Regions from separate parts of the Homo sapiens genome. Here region 1 is linked to region 2. The links are contacts of gene promoters, found by promoter capture Hi-C in blood cells and fetal thymus (Javierre and others, 2016). All regions are on one chromosome and are shown on one strand. Each heading gives the region's core, a stretch centred on a gene start or on the middle of the fragment in contact. The rest is flanking DNA. Distances are from core to core; before and after follow the strand shown. Region 1 overlaps DPYSL3 (dihydropyrimidinase like 3). Region 2 holds the start of JAKMIP2 (janus kinase and microtubule interacting protein 2).

Region 1 (3,158 bases), core at 290-2,789, 330 kb after region 2:
GAAGAATACGAAGTAAACTCCATGATATTTGGGACTTATTATTCACCTCCATTGCACTAACACTGATAAAAATAATGGCACATAGTAAGCACAAGGTAAATATTGTGTGAATATTTTGAGAATGAATGAATGAATGAATGAATGAATGAGTGATGGTGAGGAAGAGAACCCAGTTAGGAGGTTACAATAATTCAGGTGATAGCCAAATGATGGCTAAACACAGGAAGAAACTTTGCAAATCATGAGAGGAGACCATAGTCTGGATACATTTAAAAGATAGAACTGGCTGGGTGCGGTGGTTCATGCCTGTAATCCCAGCACTTTGGGAGGCTGAGGCAAGCAGATCACATGAGGTCAGGAGTTCGAGACCAGCATGGCCAACATGGTGAAACCCCCTCTCTACTAAAAGTACAAAAATTAGCCAGGTGTGGTGGCAGACACCTGTAATGCCAGCTACTCAGGAGGATGAGGCGGGAGAATTGCTTAAACCTGGGAGGCGGAGGTTGCTGTGAGCCGAGATCACCCCACTGCACTCCAGCCTGGGCAACAAGAGCGAGACTCTGTCTCAAAAAAAAAAAAAAAAAAAAAAAAAATAGAATCAGTAGCATTTGCTGAAAGATTGTCTGTGGAGAGTAGGGGCATGATTGAAGGAGAGAAATCAAGGATGGTGCCAAACCTTTCGCCTGAGCAACTGGAATGGAGTACCCATTGATTTAAGTGTGGAAATCTGTGGTGTGGCAGGTGTGGTAGCCAAAATTAAGTTTCTTTGGGACTGTAAATCAAGTCTATTTCTACATCTTCCTCTCCCTCTTTCAGTTTACTGAGATACCTAAAGCCAAGCACTGCTGTGTATCCAAGGAAAACCATTCAGAGTCATTCTACTGTGGAAAACATCCATACTGGTTCCATTCTTCTCTCTCTTGGCCAGACACAGAGGCATCCTGTGTTGATGGCTGCCTTTCTTATGGCCAAGGAAGGCTTTTTCCTTCAAATTCATCTTAGAGGCTTTATTTTGGTTCAAGAAAGTGAAAGATAATTGAAGGGGATGAAACAAGGAAAATAGTGTTTGTTGTACATTTCTGATGATGGCAACAGCTTGAATCAATTTGCTGTGTTTCTGTGTCTGGCTGGTCACAGCAGCCGGATCCAGAAGAACACATTGCAATTGCCATTCAGCATGGCCTCTTGCATGCAAACCTGACCTCAAAAAAGCTTAACCAAGTCTTGTTATTTGAAACAACACACACACACACACACACACACAATCAAGTGATCAAAAATATGGTATAAATCTATTTAGTAAAGAGTGTTCTGGATTATAATGATGGTAACAGAGGAGATAACTCAGATGTAAGAAAGGCAAAGAAACTTGTAAAATTAAAAAAAAAGGCAGCAGCAGCGGTATTTTTTTTTTAGGATTGTAAATGTCCCCTACATATTTTTGCTTTTCTTGAGAAAAATGTGCAAGATCCTTTCCAGCAAGTTTGGGGCAGTAAAATCTACAGGAAAGATGCAGAGAGAGAGAGCTCTGCTGGTTTCCATAGTATGTAGTTAATTCTCCTTTTACTCTGTTCTAAATATAATCCTGCTCATTTGCATGCCAATCCCCAGAATGCTTTGTAATTTCACAACTCTTGGCTAGTGGTCTCAGCACTTACGCTTTAAGAACAAAGCAAAATGTTTAGGGCGTGCCTTTGGCCCAGTCTTTTTATTCCCCCTTGTGTTTTGCAAGAGTATAGGGAGGTGATCTTTGCTTGGCATTCATCCTCCTTTGCAGAGTATCACAGAAATAAAGTGGAGACTGCTGTGGACTTTTCTTGCGAAGACTGCATTCAGTCCAATTAACCATAAATAACCAGAAGCTTGGATTAACTCACTTGAGAGGGAGTGTTTAAGGGGGGCTTTGTGTGTCCTTGGATTATGTGACCAGTCTGGTTCGTTTCGGGTTTATGGAAAGCCCAAGCCGGAGTATTCTGTATTCTCTTTCTGTGGATGCCTTATATAGTTTCTTTATCGCAAGCACGTCTTCACTTTAATGACAAGATGTCTAGAATTGCCATCAGTGGGCTGCCTTATGGAAACGTGAATTCAAGATTCAACACAGCTTTAGTCATGCTTAGTGACATACAGGATTTCTATTTAATAGAACATTAAGATTGACAATTGGGGAGCGGTGGGAAAATTGTCTTCAAAGGGTTTTATAATTTTTTTTGCATAGCAAGTCTTTTTTTGGTTCCTTAAATTTTATGTTTGGAATTATTTGTCGTGAGAGTTGAGGAGCTCCCTCACCCCCAGCCACCACTCAGACCCCACCCACAGTGGCCTCTCCAAATATGTCTCCCTTTGGCCGTTTGATTTTAGCAGGTAGCTAAAGGACAATGTATTCCATCGCCGAAGGGCCATGGTTTTGCTTGTAATAACATATAAACCTTCGTCTGTCAGCCCTGCCTAAAGTAAACTCGGGATTGTGAGCAGTGCACGTGGTTCATTACTGATGGGGAGCAATAGCAGTTCTACTCCAAATCCATGGCTGCGCACCAGGAACGTGTCTGGGCTACTGCCTTCCCACTCCACAGGTGTTTTCTACTTTTTACTCACAGAGCAGCATTCATGTTCTTTCTTTGATTCTGAGACTCAGTCAGGCAGTGGAGTTTCTTTAACAAGATACTACTTGGATATTTTTTAAATACAGGGAATGGTTGAGTCCACTGCTACCGTGCCCCTTGCAGCCTCTGAGAGCGAGTCACGGCTTTCCATTTTCTAATGTGTATGTTCCGGGTCTGGGGACCCCAGCAGGCCCGCCAGGTTGCAGAGTCGGACCAGTCTCCGGCGTCTGAAGGGGCTGCGCCGCTGTTTACCACCCCGCGAGCAGCAGAGGCGGCGCCCAGCCCTCCTCTCGAACAAAGGCGCGGCCGCCGCATTCGACCCGCGCCATGGCAGAGGAGAGCGGGTGCCGGGAGGGAAGCCGGGAACCGTCTCCATTCTGAAACTAGGGCGGGGAAGGTAGGAGATCCGACGAGGAGCTGGCTGGGGGCGGCGGCGCCCGCAACTCGGCCCCGCGGCCGGGAGGGCGTAGCTGATGCTCCCACCCCCGGGACTCAGCCTCCGCTCCCGAAAAGCCCCTCGCGCCCCCTGGTGGCTGTGGAGCAGCCTGACTC
Region 2 (3,199 bases), core at 319-2,818:
TAATGACTCATGAGGTTCTGTGATTATTTCTTTTTACAGATGAAGAAACATAGATTTGAGGAAGTTAATAAATATGTTCCAGATTATACCTATAGTAAATACTGGCGCTAGGAATGGAGCCTAGATCGTCTGACTCTGGAACTTGTGTTAAACCCATTTGAACCTGTAAATAACTCTGTGGATTAAGAACAAAGATTATTTCCATTTTATGGAGGAGTGGCAGAAAAGTGTGGTGGTTAGGAGAGCAAATGTAAGTGTTAGAAGAGTCCATTTTGATTCCGGTTCTGTCGTTTATCAGTTGTGAATTTGGGAAATGTATCTAACTCCTCTGAGATTTACAATGTCCTCAAATATCAAGATGTAGAGAACACTTAATCTCTTAGGGCCTCTCTGTCTTTGCCATCATCATCATGGTTATTACGTACTTTGGATTTTCTCATCTTAATTTTTTCTCCTACCTGAAATTGCCATGTTATTCCCCTTAAACCCTTAGATTAAGAGATGGCTGCAATGTACTACTATGCTGCTAATAGTAAATATTTATTGTACACTTACTATATGCCAAGTGCTTTTAGTGCATTATCTCATTCAATCTTTACAACCCCTCCACGAGATAAATACTGGTGTCATCTATAATTTATAGTTAGAAACAGAACTCGCCTAGAACTGGACATTGCTGATTTCACTTCCCCCTTTTCCTGCCCACCACCCTGACTGCCAACTGACTTCGGAACTCCAAAAAGGCATCCATGAAAACGACAGGAATTGCCTGCAGGAAATTGAATGCTCCAGGAGTTTGACACTAAAAAGATTGGGAACTGTCCACCAACTTGTGCTACCGAGAATAGTGGTTGTTGAAAGGAATTTCGGTCTCTATCCAAACTTACTTTTCCTCAGGGATGTGTCAATTACCTCCAAGTCCTGTTCAGAAGGGTAGCTGGAAAAACAGTGAAACCAAGTAACTCACCTGAGAACAAGCCGGGAGTAGTGCAAAGGAATCAACCAGACTCTTAATTTATTACAAAGTCCAGCCACTCCGTTTGCTTTCTAAAAACCTTGTTGCCTGGTATTGAGTAAAAGATGCTATAAAGGACGAACACGTTTGGAAGTAATAATAATCTGCTATTATGCGACATAATTTTCTCCACATTTGTTGTTATTTTTCTGATAATAAATTTCATACTTTTTATTGGAAAACCACAGAAAATGCAAAAAATAGCTAAGCCGTTGGTATGTTTCTATCTAGATTTCAATTAAATTTTAATTATTCTCTCCCCGTGCCTAGCCCCCCTTGCCCCATTTTTAAAAAGACCTGGAGTTCAGGGTAGGAGACATCAAGAGCATCCTAGAGGGCAGCAGCACAAATTCACTCCCCTCCAGACCCTGCAGCTTGCTTCGCCCATCTCCCCTCCCCCTGAGCTTGGTCGCTTATCATTGGTCATTGCCATGGCAACCAGCAGCTGCCGGGCCAGCAGCCTCTACCGCAGCAGGGGTGGGGCACTGGGGGAGGGGGAGAGAGAGAGGAGGAGCCAGAGGAGGTGTCTGCTGCAAGTTCCTGGCTGCTTCCGAGCTCACCCCATCCTCCGAGAGGGAGGAGGCCCAACTGGTGATGCTGCTGCTGCTGCTGCTGCCGCCGCCGCCGCCTCTATTGCTGATACTCTAGTGGGGCTGGAAGGGTGGTTCCTATTCGCACCATCGCCAACCAGAGACAGAGGGAAAAAAAAAACCGGCAGCCACTGCTGATGTTGGGTTCGGAGGCTGCATCCGACTCGGTCACAAGGAAAATGGATTCAGTTTGCATCTCTCCCTCCTTTAAACAGCTTCTCCGGGTCTCAGCATGGTGAGTAGGAAACAGTAGGGCTCCCTTCTTGGTTTAGAGTGTTCTTATTTGACCTGTGTATACATTTCTGGCCTGAACTTGAACAATGACTCCCGTGCCTCAGACTAGAAGGGGGAGATGTGGAGACAGAGATGAGGATGGAGGGAGAGGAAGCTTGCCAGGAAGAGAGAAGTGAGAAGACAACCTCTTGTGTTTAAAAAAAAAAAATGGTGTTCTGATTTTATCTCTAACTGGCTCAGAATGCAGACTGAGCCACTTGGTGCCTTTTTTCCTAAGCTTAGCAACAGCATCAGGGGTTGGAAAAAGAGCTAACAACAAGAAGAGGGTGTTATTGAAAGGAATCATTTCATTTGCAGCTCTCACATACAGGGTTGGGCCTTCTTCAGAAATACATTTGGTGTCTCATAAGCTTACCAGACTCATTATAAGGTGGTTTTGCTTATTTTATTGATTGCTTAGAAAAAGTGGCCCCAGAATTTGACATTTTATTTTATATTCTAATATACTCTTGTTGAGAAATCATTTGCAAGACCCAGTTTTATTTTATACGTAGATTTGACTGTGAACTTACACATGTATATCTTATGGATATACAGATCATATATACACATGTCACTTAGCATTTATATTGCATTTATGAAGCATATTTATATGTAGGGTGTGCTTTGCAACCATTTTTATGGGTTACATATGTCCTTGCATGCCTGGAAGTAATTGCATGTTTTTGAAACTATGCTTCTGGTTTATATTATTATTCATTGGCTTTATTTGGATTAATGTGAAATTTACTCTGGTTATTGTCCCTTAGTTTCATTGTGACCGATTGGAACAGATGCCTATCGTTTGATCTGTGTCATAGAACTAGATGCAAATTTGTAGCCTGCCTCTTTATTTTTAATTGGGTTTGTGGGGGATGATATTGAGGACTCTGAATTTACAATGATGGGAATGGGAGGCGGTTTGTGGTATTATTTTGTGTCTAGCATCTTACCAAATCAATGTTGAAGCAAATCAGTTTTCTTGAAATGCCACCCCAACCTTTTCATGTTTGTGCCTTGTGTCCCAGGAAGCACAGCTAAGCTGGAAGGTGAAATGTATTCATTTTATTTAATAGTGCTGCTATCTGATGTTCATTCCTTCAGTATCCAGGAACCATTTCACAGTTCTCTCAGATGTTGTATTAAGGGTCTCCTTCTGTAAATAATTAAGTAGGAAAGTAGGATTGTTTTGAAAATCTAGGTATTCCCAAGCACCCTAGCCCAGCCGTTTCCAAATTAGTCTGCTTATACAATGAAATGAAACCAGAGAGTGAGCAAAGCGAGCAGGAGAATGTGTGGCTTGTAGCTGAAATGGGGGTCT

What was found. Contacts are between HindIII fragments. The CHiCAGO score rates a contact against its expected background, and 5 or more counts as called.
Region 1: a contact is called between a fragment that was not itself captured here and the fragment with the promoter of JAKMIP2 in region 2, in 1 of 17 cell types (fetal thymus). The highest score is 5.0, in fetal thymus.

The regions. Positions count from the first base shown.
Region 1 is chr5:147,454,017-147,457,174 of GRCh38, reverse strand. The region is part of intron 1 of DPYSL3 (dihydropyrimidinase like 3); the gene reads left to right. Among named protein-coding and RNA genes, the nearest start is that of DPYSL3, 54 kb to the left of the region's middle. RefSeq lists an enhancer at 727-1,228 and a silencer at 2,947-3,086. The HindIII fragment of the contact is 650 bases long and covers 1,215-1,864 here.
Region 2 is chr5:147,781,097-147,784,295 of GRCh38, reverse strand. JAKMIP2 (janus kinase and microtubule interacting protein 2) reads left to right here and starts at 1,568. Exons shown (of 22, transcript NM_001270941.2): 1 at 1,568-1,840. The HindIII fragment of the contact is 4,284 bases long and covers 1-1,995 here.